Regions from separate parts of the Homo sapiens genome. Here region 2 is linked to region 1. Evidence: promoter capture Hi-C in 16 types of primary human blood cells and fetal thymus (Javierre and others, 2016). All regions are on one chromosome and are shown on one strand. The core of a region is centred on a gene start or on the middle of the fragment in contact, and the rest is flanking DNA. Distances in the headings are between cores, read along the strand shown. Region 1 holds the start of KIF27 (kinesin family member 27). Region 2 overlaps AGTPBP1 (ATP/GTP binding carboxypeptidase 1).

Region 1 (3,669 bases), core at 412-2,911:
TATTACCATACGACCCAGCAATTCCACTCTTACGTCCATACCTAAAAGACCTGAAAACAGGCTCGGCGCGGTGGCTCACGCCTATAATCCCAGCACTTTGGGAGGCCAAGGTGGGCGGATCACCTGAGGTCGGGAGTTCGAGCCCAGCCTGACCAACATGGTGAAACCCCGTCTCTACTAAAAATACAGAAAACTTAGCCAGGCGTGGTGGTGGCACATGCCTGTAATCCCAGCTACTCCAGAGGCTGAGGCAGGAGAATTGCTTGAACCCATGAGGCGGAGCTTGCAGTGAGTTGAGATAGCGCCACTGCACTCCAGCCTGGGCAACAGAGCGAGACTCCATCTCAAAAAAAAAAAAGGAACTGAAAACAGACATCCAAATATTGTATGTGAATGTCCATAGCAGCATGGAAACAGCCCAAATGTCCACCACCAGCTGAAGAATGGATAAACAAAATGTGGTATGTCTATATCCATACAATGGAATTTTTTCAGCCCTAAAAAGTCCTGATAGGGCCGGGCAGGGTGGCTCATGCCTGTAATCCCAGCTACTCCGGAGGCTGAGGCAGGAGAATCGCTTGAACCCATGAGGTGGAGGTTGCGTTGAGCCTAGATGGCGCCATTGCATTCCAGCCTGGGCAATAAGAGCGAAACTCCATCTAAAGGGCCGGGCGTGGTGGCTCACGCCTGTAATCCCAGCACTTTGGAAGGCCGAGGCGGGCAGATCACGAGGTCAGGAGATCAAGACCATCCTGGCTAACACAGTGAAACAAACCCCGTCTCTACTAAAAATACAAAAAATTAGCCGGGCGTGGTGGCACGCGCCTGTAATCCCAGCTACTCGGGAGGCTAAGGCAGGAGAATCGCTTGAACCCGGGAGGTGGAGGTTGCAGAGAGCCGAGATCACGCCACTGCACTCCAGCTTGGGCGACAGAGCGCGACTCGGTCTCAAAAAAAAGAAAAGAAAAAAAAGAAAAGAAGTCCTGATAGATGTTACAACATGACTGCATCTTGAAAACATTAAGCAAAAGAAGCTAGACACAAAAGGTCATATACTGAATGATTCCATCAATAAAGAAATGCCCAGAATAGGTAAAGCTATCACAGAGTCAGAAAGTAGATTAGTGGCTGGCTGGGGTTGTGGGGAGAGGGGAACCAGAAGGAATGACTGCTAACTGGTTTGGGGATTTTCTTTTGGGGTTATGAAAATGTTTCTGAACTATATACAGAGGTGATGGTTGCACAACACTGTGAATGCATTAAACGCCACTGAATTGTGAGTTTTAAGATGGTTTATGTTAGGCAAGTTTTACTCAATAAAAATAAAAATAAACTGAATTGGTAGCTAAGATATTGAAACACGGTGTGGAATCGTTCTCACTCATTTCACGAACCCGTAGAAAGATGCTTGCGCTCAGGCCTCACAGACCGGTCCCAGCGCGTTGGTGGGACACAACTCGGATTTGCAGGCAAGCCCAGGGGCCGGCCCTTTGCGGACTTCCTGGGGACGCAGGACTCCTGCGCGGCGGGCTTGGAGGCGTGGCCAGGATGGGGGCGGGGCCAGGACGCGGCATCCAGGAGAGGACGCGGCGGGAGGCGGGCTTCGCCGGTTGCCAGGAGAACTCGCGACAACAAAAGACGCGGACGGCGGCTGCGCGGTGTGGCAGAGCGAAGCTGAGGAGTCCAGCGCTCGCCGACAGGGGCCTGGGCTGTCCCGAGCCGGTCAGTGCTCGGCGGGCCTGGCGGGCGGTGCGGGGAAGTGGGGCGCCCTCCCTTCGCGGTGCCCGCCCTCCAGCCCGCCGCGCCCGCCGCTCCCGCGCCCCCAGCCGGCCGTTGGGACTAGTAGGCTCCGGCTTGGGGTCGGGGCCGCCGCGGGTGGGTAGCGGAGGGTGGGCGGTTGGGGCGCCAGCTAGGCCTATGGGGGCGTCCGAGGGGTCTGGGGTCGGGGCTGGGAGCCGGCGAGCGACTAGAGGCAGAGCGCCCCTTCCGGAGGAAGTTGGGTCAGCCCTGAGGAGCGGGTCCCGGGGAACACCGATCGACCGGAACGCGGGACCCGGCCTTTCAGAGCGCACCCTGTGTTCGTCTCGTGTCGCTGCACGGCGTGAGGTGCGACGCGAGGGCCACCACCACCGAGCGCTTTGTTTTATCGCAGGCGTCTTTTTCCCACCGTAGAGGTTGAAACTTGGGCGCATTTCCCACCGTAGAGGTTGAAACTTGGGCGCATTTCCCACCGTAGAGGTTGAAACTTGGGCGCATTTCCTACCGTAGAGGTTGAACCTTGGGCACATTCAAGCCCGAGAGCTCCCTCCCTCGGAGGCAGGTGACTATAAAGAGCAAAGCGCCCAGATTCTTTCTTTGAAACACCTTTTAAGTAACACCTTTTAAGTCTCCAGTGTTGAAAATCCTTGTTGTTTGCCCTTCTTTACTCTTTTGTCGTCTTTACGCATTTGGGGCCTTTTCTGAGCTCCGTATGCGATTTACTGTCCATCTACTGGCAAGTTTTTTATGAAAATAATTAACAAACCACACATTTAAGACAACCACTGCTTTCTGGGAAATCAAGGGTACGGGATGGCAACGGTTTTTGGAGACACTCATTCCTGACCAGTGACATGACATGAGGGATTCAATATTTCTCTTGCCTTTGCTCAGATTTCAAAAACCCGTTGAGTATACTTAAATACGACCAATCAGATTTTGCTTTTTTTTAAATCATTTATTGGCAACATAATACGTATGTTTCTGATGACTATAATTGATCAGAATCTGAAGTATAAGTGCTATGGATTGTGTAAAAACTTTATTTCTTGTATATTGATGTTTTACAAGCCCTATGTTTGTGGACCATTACTATTGTTTGTTTGTTTTGTTTTGAGACAGGGTCTCGCTCTGTTACTCAGGCTGGAGTGCAGTGGCACACTGCAGCCTCAACCTCCCGGGCTCAAGCGATCCTCCAATCTCAGCCTCCCAAGTAGCTGGGACTACAGGTGCGTCACCACAGCCTGGCACATTCTTGTATTTTTAGTAGAGACAGGGTTTCACCATGTTGCCCAGGCTGGTCTGGAACTCGTGGGCTGAAGCGATCCACCTGCCTTGGCCTCCCAAAGTGCTGGGATTACAGGTGTGAACCACTGTGCCCGGCCCCATTATTATTTTTTTTAATGCTTAGAATAAGTTTCAGTTGCCTTTATAACCAAATTCTTTATAGATATTACCATTAAAAACCCCAAGAAATGAGGCTGGGCATCGTGGCTCACATTTGTTTTGTTTTGTTTTCAGGAGGGATCCTCTCGCTTCAGCCTTCTGAGTAGCTGGGATTACAGGCGCACGCCACCATGCCTGCCTAATTTTTGTATTTTTAGTAGAGACAGGGTTTCTCCATGTTGCCCAGGCTGGTCTCGAACTCCTGGGCTCAAGTGATCCACCCGCCCTGGCCTCCCAAAGTGCTGGGATTACAGATGTGAACCACCGTGCTGGGCCATGGTTTTTTTTTTTTCAAGGGTAGTGAATATTATCAATTCATTGTTGTTAGTGTTATTAATAAAATATTATTTCAGTCTAGTTGTCTGTGTTACTTAATGGTAATCTTCAAGACTCAGCAGCTTTTCCAAAGAACCTAACCTCACCTCAAATTCATTACTTTTCATCATCTGCACTCAAACATTGTCA
Region 2 (3,669 bases), core at 788-3,287, 1.6 Mb before region 1:
GCCCAGGTGGTTTTGAACTCCTGGGCTCGAGCAGTCTTCCCATCTCGGCCTCCCAAACTGCTGGGATTACAGGCATGAGCCACTGTGCCTGGCTTCAATACCAACTTTTAAGAGAAGCCTTTTGCTCACACTTTGCCTGGCTAACTCCTAGTTAACCCCAGAGACTATATCTGTGCCCTTTAGTGCAGAGACTATATCTGTGCCCTTTAGTGCTGCATAATGTGCCATTCATGGTACCTTGCAATGTGTGCCAGTCACATATTGAGTTGAATAAGAGGTAGGTAGCTATGTCAGATTTAAAAATTCAATTGAATTAGATTTCTGGGAAGAGCACTGTCTTATAGTGCCCAAATTAACCATGTAAGCACATTAGACTTTATCCTTTAGTCATTTGGGAGTTTTAAAGCCACTGGCAAAGTATGCCACTATTTTACCTGAAAGAAGTATATGCATTTTTTTGAAACTGGGAAGGTGGAGGCAAAAAAATTCTTAAGGAAGGTGTTTGGAATCATTTACATTTGAGACGAGGATGAGTGCTCCAATAAGAATAGTGAGGATAAGGGGCAATGATTGCTTGAGGAGATAGTATTAGGTAGCATTGGAGGGTCATAATGATGAATATGGAATCAGTAGGGCACAGGCATTTGGCAGCATGGAATCAGTAGGGGAAGACACATTTCCAAGTGTAAGTGAAAAGGGTAAATGACAGTGTTAGAGATGGAACTAGGAGACCACTTACCTTTTACTAAGATCACCCCCCTGTCCTTTTCTCTTTATTGTCTGTGCTCTTCTGGATCCCTTCTTTGTCCTTGTAATTTTTAATCTATTTCCTGGTCGTAATGTGAAACTGAGGTATCAAGTTAATGAATATAAATTCCCCTAACTTTTTTTTTAGTTGAGTTCACCCTTTCATAATTTTTCAAATCCATCTTTCCCTGCCAGAATTTTGCTTTATTCAACCTGTCTGCAGTGTGGATCGTGTTATTCCACAACTTAGCCCTCAATTCAGTTTTATCCTTCTTGGTTTTAACTATTTCCCGAGATACAGTATCTGTTATAAATTAATTTATTTTCATTTGTAGGCAATGTATATCAAATAAGCTTGAATACTTGCAGCAATAAGAATAAATATTTACATTAAATGTCTTTTTCAACATAAGTAGTAACTCATTGACAGATGTTGTCCTAGTCAGCTCAGGCTGCCATAATGAAATACAATAGGCTGGATGGCTTATAAATGACAGAAATTTATGTCTCACAGTTCTGGAGATTGTGAAGTCCAAGAGCAAGGCAATGGCTGATTTGGTGTTTGGTGAGGGCCTGCTTCCTCATAGGTGGCCTTCTTCTCACTGTAACCTCATGTGACATAAACATTCAGTTCATTACCCTTCATCCCTGTTCCCATCCCAAAATTCATGTCCTTCTCACAAGCAAAATACATCATTTCCATCTCAATAGTCCCAAAATGTTCGCTTATTCCAACATTAACTCAAAAGTTTAAAGTCCAAAGACTCATCTGAATATAGTCATGCATCGTTTAACAATAGGAATACATTCTGAGAAATGTGTTGTTAGGTGATTTCATCATCGTATGAATATCATATAGTGTATTTGTAGTAACCTAGATGGTATAGCCCATTACACACCTCGGCTATATGGTATAGCCTATTGCTCCTAGGCTACAAGCCTGTACAGCATGTGACCGTATGGAATACTATATATAATTGTAACACAATGGGAAGTATTTCTGTATTTGAACATATTTGAATATAGAAAAAGCACAGTAAAAATATGGTATTATAATTGGGACCACTGTCATATATGCATTACATCGTTGACTGAAACATCATTGGAGCATATGACTGTGTCATTTAAATCAGATATGGGTGAGATTCAAGGTATAATTTGTCCTGAGGCAAATTTTCCTTTAGCTGTGAGCCTGTGGAATCAACCAAGTTAGGTGCTTCTAAAATACAATGGTAGGACAAGAACAGGACAGACATTTTTATTCCAAAAAGAAAAAGAAGTGACAATTCTTGAGCATGTCCAAAACCTGAAGGCTTGAAAATGATCTTTAGCTGCATTCTCTGCTCTTCAGGCCCACTGGGGCTGCCGTTCCACCTTCTGGACACACTAGAGTGGAGGCTCCATCCCTGCAGTTTTGCTGGCCATTGGTTGGATCCCTAAGCCTCCAGGCAGTCCTGCCCCCATGGCTTTGCTGGGCCTTGCCCTAGTAGCAGCTCTTTGTGGTGGCCTTGCCCTTGTGGTGGTTCCTTACCTGGGTGTTGTGCCTGTGGCTCCATCCTTCGATATCTAGGTGGAGGTAACCATGCTTCCCAGGCTGGTGAATTCTGGGGCTCAGCAGAGACAGCACACATGGATGCTGCCAAATGCCTGTGCCCTCTGAAGTGGTGACCACTGCATGTGTACCACACCTGGGCCTTCCAGAGCCTCACCTTGTGCTGCAGAGGAGCAGGGTGCCAGACTGCAGGGAGTGGAGTGTGTGAACCTGCAGGCACAGGTGGCTCCTCTTTTGAAACCACTCTGATGATCTCTGAATTGCCTGTCAGGGAGGGTGGTCGTTCTTTTCTTGTCTTGGACAATAGCTCCTGGCTCTGTTTATTTGGCTGACTTTATGCCTTATCAGTTGGTCCTTTTGCTACACCCTTGGTATTCTCTCCTCCCAAACTGTCTTTCTCGTTTGTTACAATATAGACAGGGTGAGAGTTTTCCAAATTTTTAAGTTCTGCTTCCTCTCTCGTGAATGATTCCATCTTTAATTTCTCTTGTCTTGCATTTTACTATAAGCAATCAAGAGAAGCCAAGCCATACCTTCAACAGTTTGCTTAGAAATTTCCTTGGCCAAATATCCTCATTTTCATCTGAGACCTCATCAGAATGGCCTTTACTGTCGTATTTCTACCAACATTCTATCAGGATTATTAAGTATTCTTTAAGAAGTCTGAAGCTTTCTCTATAGCTTTCCTGTTTTCTTTCTGAGCCTCACCAGAATTGCTCTTTATGGGCCATTCACAGCCATGTATCCCTTTTGTAGCAAGCACCTCCATACTCTTACAGCTTTTACTCACTACCCACTTCCAAAACTGCTGCCACATTTTTACATGTTTGTTACAATAGCACCCCCAGTTCTTGGTGTCAGTTTCTGTCTTGGTCTGTTTGAGCTACTGTGACAAAATACCGTACACTGGATACCTTATAAACAGGAGAAATCTATTTCTTACAGTTCTGGAGACAGGGAAGTCCAAGATCAAGGCATCAGCAGATTCAGTGTCTGGGGAGGGCCTTGTTCTTTGATAGACAGTGGTCATCTCACTGTAACCTCATATGGCAGAAGGGTTGAGGGATCTTTATGGGGTCTCTTTTATAAGGGCACTAATCCCATTCAAGAGGGCTCTGCTGTTGTGACCTGATCACCTCCCAAAGGCCCGCCTCCTAATACCATCACCTTGGGAATTAGGATTTCAACATATGAATTGGGATGGGAGGGGGGATGTAAATATTCGCCCAATTTCAGATATTATATAATTACTCTTTACAATACTGTGAACCATCAGGTTTTTTGCATATAACATTTAAGTTTTGTTTAAATAAACTAAGAAAAAGGTAAGAGACTTATTCAAAGTGAATTTGTGATAATTATGAAAAATA

The links. The method cuts DNA at HindIII sites, captures the fragments that hold promoters and counts their contacts. A CHiCAGO score of 5 or more calls a contact.
Region 2: a fragment that was not itself captured here is called in contact with the fragment with the promoter of KIF27 in region 1 in 1 of 17 cell types (monocytes); the score reaches 5.7 in monocytes.

The regions. Positions count from the first base shown.
Region 1 is chr9:83,919,424-83,923,092 of GRCh38, reverse strand. KIF27 (kinesin family member 27) reads left to right here and starts at 1,661. Exons shown (of 18, transcript NM_017576.4): 1 at 1,661-1,722. It overlaps LOC105376335 (serine/arginine repetitive matrix protein 1-like), which reads right to left and starts at 2,192. Exons shown (of 3, transcript XM_011519284.2): 1 at 1,832-2,192; 2 at 1,395-1,739. The coding sequence starts at 2,192. RefSeq lists enhancers at 261-765, 1,380-2,129 and silencers at 1,499-1,648, 1,679-2,058. The HindIII fragment of the contact is 5,103 bases long and covers 1-3,669 here.
Region 2 is chr9:85,562,663-85,566,331 of GRCh38, reverse strand. The region is part of intron 25 of AGTPBP1 (ATP/GTP binding carboxypeptidase 1); the gene reads left to right. Among named protein-coding and RNA genes, the nearest start is that of AGTPBP1, 180 kb to the left of the region's middle. The HindIII fragment of the contact is 1,867 bases long and covers 1,104-2,970 here.